Linked DNA regions of Homo sapiens: region 1 is linked to region 2. The links are contacts of gene promoters, found by promoter capture Hi-C in human tissues and cell types (Jung and others, 2019). All regions are on one chromosome and are shown on one strand. The core of a region is centred on a gene start or on the middle of the fragment in contact, and the rest is flanking DNA. Distances in the headings are between cores, read along the strand shown. Region 1 overlaps ECT2 (epithelial cell transforming 2). Region 2 holds the start of NCEH1 (neutral cholesterol ester hydrolase 1).

Region 1 (3,905 bases), core at 1,018-3,517, 48 kb before region 2:
TAATGAACTACTGAGTTTCTAAACACTTACTGTTCATTCCGCCTTTCCCAAGCTTTATAAATCCATTCTGGCTTCATAATTGGAGTACCTAGACTCACAGCAACCTAAAAATATAAACATTACAGTGAATTTTCTCCTTAAATAACTGCATTCAAGGAAGTTCTAAACAGTTAACATACTTAATTTTTTGCAGTTTTAGATCACTATCTGCTTTGTAACAAAATAATTTAAAAATTAACAGACAAACTATCTTCCAATCATACAAGTTAGGGTAAAATAACTTCAAAACAAGTTCCATGGTGTCCGAACTGTTTCCTTATTTTAAATAAATATATCTCTGAAGTTCATCTTTATTAAATTTCTATTTCTCCTTTCTTCACGTTTACTTCCTTGAAAGTATGACCCTCAAGATGGCACTACAGAAGAAGACATCCGACTAAGTCACTAAAACCTTAGATATGAGTTGAAATATTTAGGGTAAATTGAAGAGTACACTAAAATTACCATTTGCTACACAAATACACTAAGGGAGACTAAGAAAAAATGATAAACTCTTGCTAAGACATTCAACTATAATCTTAAACTAAGATTCAATCCTAGTGAGAGTATTTTCTCCTATTATAATATTCACAAGTTAAATCTTAGAACCACTTTATAAGAGCAGAGCTCTGTTCTTATGAAGGGCACTTAGACAGCCAGGCACAGTGGCTCATGCCTGTAATCCCACCACTTTGGGAGTCCGAGGCAGGCAGATCACCTGAGGTCGGGAGTTTGAGACCACCCTGGCCAATATGGTGAAACCCTGTCTCTATGAAAACTACAAAAATTAGCCGGGCATGGTGGTGCGCACCTGTAGTCCCAGCTACTCGGGAGGCTGAGGCAGGAGAATGGCGTGAACCCAGGAGGCGGAGCTTGCAGTGAGCCGAGATGGCACCACTGCACTCCAGCCTGGGTGACAGAGAGAGACTCAGTCTCAAAAAAAAAAAAAAAAAAAAAAAAAAGGCACTTAGACAAGAGTAAATTCCCTACTTTCACAATTCCTACAATGTTATTCATCTACCAACCCCCACGATCCTAGTCATCTTTCAACACCTCACTCAAGTTCCATTGCCTACTTAAAACTTAACCACTCGGCCAGGCCTGGTGGCTCACGTATGTAATCTCAACACTTTGGGAGGCCAAGGCAGGAGGATCACTTAAGCCCAGGAGTTCGAAAGCAGCCTGGGTAACAGAGCAACACCCCATCTCTATTTAAAAAAAAAGAAAAGAAAAGAAAAGAAAGAAAATTTAACCACTCTTATGATTTAAAATTTTTTACTAAATATATTCATAGCAAAAATTGAGTTTCTCTTCTTTAATTGTGAAAGAAATAGATAAAAGACTGCTATTATTAAACCCATGCCAAAATAATGCTGTATTGAAATACACAAAAATACCCAAGTTTACATACCCTGAATTTTTCTCCTTGTGTACAATTTGCCACCAAATGTGTAACTTTTGAATTAAAGTCTTTTCGAATAACTCCACCCATGTGATGGACCAATGTCACCAACCTGACCTCAAAAGAAAAATTAAGCAACACTGACTTTATGGTTAATTTGAACAAAATTTTAAACTATGTTTACCCCACATTTAGCATTTGCTAAATACTTTCTATTTATAAAATACATACGGGATTTTTATAAAGCTATTAAATTTTATGTCAAAGTAAGTATAAAAAAGATTAGTTTGCCTATTAACACAGGCAAAATTATAGAGGTGGGATTAGTAAAGATTTCACACAAATGTAAGTTAAACAACCGCCTTTCCTATGGCCTAAATATATTGCTTTTTAATACCATACTGTGTAAATATATTGGTTTTTTTAAAAAAATACCAAGTTTTATCACATCAAGACTGTTCCCACAAAATCAGAGTAATACCCATCAGTTCCAACAACAAAGTATTGTGAACCAAAGAAAGAACTTTCTGGCCGGGCGCGGTGGCTCACGCATGTAATCCCAGCACTTTGGGAGGCCGAGGCAAGCGGATCACGAGGTCAGGAGATCAAGACCATCCTGGCTAACACGGTGAAACCCCATCTCTACTAAAAATACAAAAAAAAATTAGCCAGGCGTGGTGGCGGGCGCCTGTAGTCCCAGCTCCTCGGGAGGCTGAGGCAAGAGAATGGTGTGAACCTGGGAAGCGGAGTTTGCAGTGAGCCGAGATTGCGCCACTGCACTCCAGCCTGGGTGACAGAGCAAGACTTGTCTCAAAAAAAATAAAATAAAAATAAAAAAGGAACTTTCTATGAATTCTATAGGGCAACAGAATACTTTCAGGCTGAACTTGCATAATAAGAAATTGCAATGTATAAACAAAAACTTTAAATAACCAACGTAGCCAATATGGTAACAAGACAGTCAAACAGAATTGCTATGAAATCTTTCTATTAATTCACATCAGCCAGCCTAGACAAAACACTGGTCTCTTTATAAGGCTCTTCAGGATTTGTTTCTTCAGAAAATTTAAAATCTGGTATAGCCATAATAAGTTATCCTTCAATATTTTAAAAATAAAACCATAATACTAAAAAGAAAAAAAAGCCAATTTTAATTTATTTTGCTGTAAAAAATACGCTTTGAATTTGTTTCGTAATACTTACTAGTTCTTCTTTTTTCCTAAATCCAGTAAAGCATAGTACTAGATTCATCATACTTGTACAATACAACGGGCGACATGAAAATGGCAAAGGCTGAAGGATACAACAATTTTAAATGTGAGCTTTCTCTTTAGTAGAAAATACAACACAACTTTCTCAAGCTAAATATATTTCATTTCCCCTCTTGCCATTCAACTTTCCCAATCCAAAGATTTACTGGCATTTTTTCAATATGCAACAAAAAAACAGCAAAACGACAGATTGCAAGTTTCCCAATAAAAATATTTCCCGATTCCTTAATCATATGCAATATACATAATCTAAACACACTTTACTCTCAGCAAATTAAACAAATATTAAATGCACTCTGACAGACATGAAGTACTGACTATAAGCAAAGTTTTCAGACTCCATACACTACTATAGATGATTCTAATTAATGTCATTAAAACAGGTCAGAGGCATTTTATAATAAACACTGAGTAAATATAATACACACACTTAAACCAAATATAATTCTAATCTTTAAGCTAATAAATGGTGATATTCAGTAAATAATTTACCCAACGGTTGTGTGTGTGTGTGTCTGTGTGTGTGTGTGTGTATAAAAGAGAACGGTTTAAAAATAATAAAAGAATAAATTTGATTTTCATCATTATATAAGATTATTTTTCAAAATTTGGCCTTTTAAAGTTTATTTGGGTTTTGAAACCAACCACTCCAAATCAAAATGTAAGAGAATTAAAGGTTAACATGTGCTTATTATTACTAACATGTGTAACAATAGAAGTACAAAGACCTAAGCAATTTTAAGTAAACAAGGCAAGCTTAAGAATGCCAAGACAGCAACAAAACCAAATAGGGACTAACTCTCATACGACTCATATTGAAATGCTGTTTAAAAACAAAAAGAAGCGGGGCACGGTGGCTCATGCCTGTAATCTCAACACTTTGGGAGGCAGAGGCAGGAAGATAACGTGAGGTCAAGAGTTCGAGACCAGCCTGGCCAACATGGTGAAATCCTGTCTCTACTAAAAATAGAAAAAACTTAGCCAGGCGTGGTGGCATGCACCTGCAGTCCCAGCTACTTGAGAGGCTGAGGCAGTAGAATCGCTTGAACCCGGGAAAGCAGAGGTTGCAGTGAGCAGAGATCGTGTATTTATTTATTAAATAAATAAATAAATACAAAAAGCTAAAATAATTTTTGAATTTTAAGTTATACAGTAACTGATAAAAATGGAACCGTGGTATCTGTTCTGTGTTG
Region 2 (3,677 bases), core at 397-2,896:
TCATGCCTGTAATCCCAGCACTTTGGGAGACTGAGGTGGGCAGATCACAAGGTCAGGAGTTTGAGACCAGCCTGGCCAGCATGGTGAAACCCCATCTCTACTAAAAATACAAAAATCAGCCAGGTGTGGTGGTGGGCACCTGTAATCCCACCTACTGAGGAGGCTGAGGCAAGAGAATTGCTTGAACCCAGGAGGTGGAGGTTGCAGTGAGCTGAGATCGTGCCATTGCACTCTAGCCTGGGCGAAAAGAGCAAGACTCCGTCTCAAAAAAAACAAAAAACAAACACCAAAAACAAACAAAACAAAAAAAAAAGAGAGAGAGAACTTGCTTGAAATACCATGAAAGTGTGCCCTTCTTATCAGTTTTCCTTCAATGTTGAAGAAGAAGCCAACTGTTTCCTAAAAATCTCATTATCAGAACCAAATTTATGGTTATTTCACTTCTATTAATTTGATTAAATTAAAATTACCATCTTAAGATGCATAATTATATATACTAGGTGTTTTAAGACCTTCATCAATAAGTTTGGAGTTGTCATCCTACCACTTTCTTGAAACAGGTCTTCTAACTGTTTTCCTTCTGGATTTCTGGTTGAAATTTTGCTAGTGAAGTTTTCTCTCTCCCATTCAGTACTCACCCACCCCTCCTCACCCCCAATCATTAACAAGAAATCTGGGTTTAAGTGTATTTCTGCTACCATTGACTCACTGAAAGAATTTTTCAGGTGATATCCACACGTTTCTCCAATAAAAAGTTATTATTTTTTCCCTTTGTAGTAATTTGTGGAGAGATCTTCTGATGAAGGACCAAAATTCTGTGTCAAATTTTTACCCTCTAGTTTTAGCATTCATTTATGATTTTCTATGGATACTAGCTGGCATTCTATTTTAAGAAAAGCCTTTCTTCTTTCCTCATTTATTTATATTAATATAGATTGTTGAGTTTTATTTTAATCAATGGGTTATCCATTATGATGATTTATATTGATGGTAAAATTATCCCAGCTTCAGCCACTGGGAGACCCTTCAAGCTGGCAGCTGTGGACCTTTGACCAGTTCCTATCATTTTTTGAGCACTTCCGCATCTCTGGCACAACAGGTTCATCTTGTACTTTACAGCCCCAGCCCTGGTATCAGCCTTTTCTCCAGAGGTTGTGTCAAAAAGCCGTGGTTCCTCTTATTGGAGCATAGGATTTAGAAACCAAGACTTGGGTGCTAGATGTACTACTGGCCTTTCATTGCTTGAGCCAGAAGAATTTAATATCTTCTTTTGCCATATATCAGCTAGAACTTACAAACCACTCCAAGTCTGGCTCCAGAAAACAGAATTTTTATATCCTTTCTCAGTACTCTGAGTCAGAATGACCCACTTGCTTTGTCCAGAGACTCGTCACACTGAAACTATTTTCCGTTTGAGACCTTCCAGGAGGAAAGCCATCCTCACACGCATGCAGTACAAACCAGTGTCCTCCAGAGTCCGCTGTGCCTACGGCCAGAGCAGCGACAGAGCCTTCCTCAAACCTGTAGTGACTGCCACACTTTGCAAGGACACCGTAGAGGGGGCATGTCCGCGCTCCAACTTCCTCCCGACGCAGCCTCTGATTGGCTCCTGGGCTTATAAGAAACGCGTGAATGAGCAGCTGCCGCGGGCAGAAAGTTGCCGGAGGTCTCCGGGTGGTATCGCCCTTTCCTCTTTGCCAGCCCGCTGGCGAGCCGAGCCAGGGCAAGATGAGGTCGTCCTGTGTCCTGCTCACCGCCCTGGTGGCGCTGGCCGCCTATTACGTCTACATCCCGCTGCCTGGCTCCGTGTCCGACCCCTGGAAGCTGATGCTGCTGGACGCCACTTTCCGGGGTGCACAGCAAGTGGTGAGGTGCAGCCCAGCGCTGCTTCTCTCTTCCTCCTCTTACGCAATATTTGAAGGGGATACAAAATTCCTCCGCCGGGTTCCACGAAAACGCAGGTTTTTCCTAATGCATTGAGGCTGTCGCTTTTTGAGGTGGTCCAGTCGGGAATTTTCAGGGTATCGCATTCGCCTCCTTGCTAGCAGCGGGCTAGATCTGCATTTCCCCGTCTGCGTTTGTGACGGGGAAGAAGTGCTTGAATAGAATTTGACAACTGTTTAAACCTTCGTCTGTCCTAAATATCTTCCTCTTCCTTGGTTTGCAACGTCAAAAGGCAAATCCTTAAGCAGTTTATAAACCACCCTTCTTCACACTGTCGTTCTCCCATAGGGACCGGCAGAGGATAAATATTTTTAGGAGAGCTCGGGAAAAGCAGGCTCTGGTTCCTGGGAATGCAGCCACCTTAGAAGCAGAAGCAGGCAAGGGCAGTCTCGCAATGTCCCCAGGCTGTGGAGCGCTCCGTTCCCGGAGACAGCAGGCAGGGCTCTCCATCCAAGCACTTGAGGAACCATAGGGATCTCTCGTTTCACCCGAGGCAGATCTCAGCTCAGCCCAAGAAAGAGGACTGGGAGGCTGGGCTGGCTGAAAGGAGGTGAGGAGGCGGCAGCCCTGGTTTGCATGATGCATGTTTTCTGCTTGCCCTGCAGCATTTATTTTATGTCCTTGGCTGTCAGATAACCTTTTCCTGAGCGAGGTTACCTGCCTTAACCTGGGAGGGTAACATTTCTCTCCACTGTATCATGGGCGTGTGTTCATTCCTTCCATACACAGGAAAATATAACTGTCTCTGGTTTATTCCATGGTAAGAGGCATTATTTTTAGTGTCAGAGAATCTAAAATCTAAACTACAGTCTGCAGCCAAGGCTGAGCCCTCTGATTGGACAGTATTTCTGAGCAGCCTGCTCTATCTAAACTCTAACCTTCTCCAAAACCAAGCCTCCTCCCTCCCCACAACCTTGGGCTTTAATCTCAGAATATTTTTATAAACTCTTTCTTTCAGAAATGACAACTAGAGAAAGAGAAAAAAAATCATTTCAACCTGAGAAAGCTGATTTTAAAAAAGTCATGATTTTCCCAGAGGGTTTATGTTCCTGTTCCCTGTCCACTCATTATGTGTAGGATTACATAATCTGTGGGGCTTTATCCTATGAAAAGTCCCCTTACTAGGATATTGCAGCACATTCCTAGCGTGGATTTGCTTTTCCTGAATTCAGCCACATTCTCACCTCCAAAGCCCCTTTTGTCTCTTAGGAAAGGTCTATGAAGCTATAGACCCCTGCCCCCCTTCTTTTCCTCTTGCTTCCTATAATGTTGACATGGTGAAAATGATCATCCCCTTCTTTAGCACTGGTGTCAAGAAAGTCAGTCTTGTTGTAGGAAGCCTTGCATTCCCTCTCCTCCCCCATGAAATTATGTAATTTGAAAGTAATACCCTTCAAAGATTGAGGAACAGTGATGTTTACCTGGGTGGGTTAATGGTCTACTACAATAACTTAAACAGAGGAAAACAGGAAAAAGATCAAACTGCTGTGTTGGCTGCAGAGATTATTCTTAGTTTTCAGGTCACCAAAGAAGTCTTCTCCATCATAAGTTAATCTCGGACAAGCTAGGTTTGGAGAAAAGCTTTTCTTTCCCAGCTAGGCTTGCCAGCCCATTAAGGACAAGGCTGTGTAAGGTCCTCCACAGAGTATACCCTCAGGTGGTGCTTGGGAATGATAGTGGGTGTAACCTGAAGTCAGCAATAGATGAGGTAACCAGTGTTCTCACCTGACACT

What was found. Contacts are between HindIII fragments. The study calls those that stand out against the background at their distance.
Region 1: a contact is called between a fragment that was not itself captured here and the fragment with the promoter of NCEH1 in region 2, in 1 of the 25 tissues and cell types used here (neural progenitor cells).

What each region holds. Positions count from the first base shown.
Region 1 is chr3:172,757,809-172,761,713 of GRCh38, reverse strand. ECT2 (epithelial cell transforming 2) reads right to left here. Exons shown (of 25, transcript NM_001258315.2): 6 at 2,645-2,734; 7 at 1,451-1,558; 8 at 31-104. Among named protein-coding and RNA genes, the nearest start is that of ECT2, 9.0 kb to the right of the region's middle. The HindIII fragment of the contact is 4,962 bases long and covers 1-3,905 here.
Region 2 is chr3:172,709,036-172,712,712 of GRCh38, reverse strand. It overlaps NCEH1 (neutral cholesterol ester hydrolase 1), which reads left to right and starts at 1,646. Exons shown (of 5, transcript NM_020792.6): 1 at 1,646-1,866. The coding sequence starts at 1,729. RefSeq lists enhancers at 1,196-1,335, 1,380-1,674, 1,596-1,865, 995-2,194. The HindIII fragment of the contact is 21,212 bases long and covers 1-3,677 here.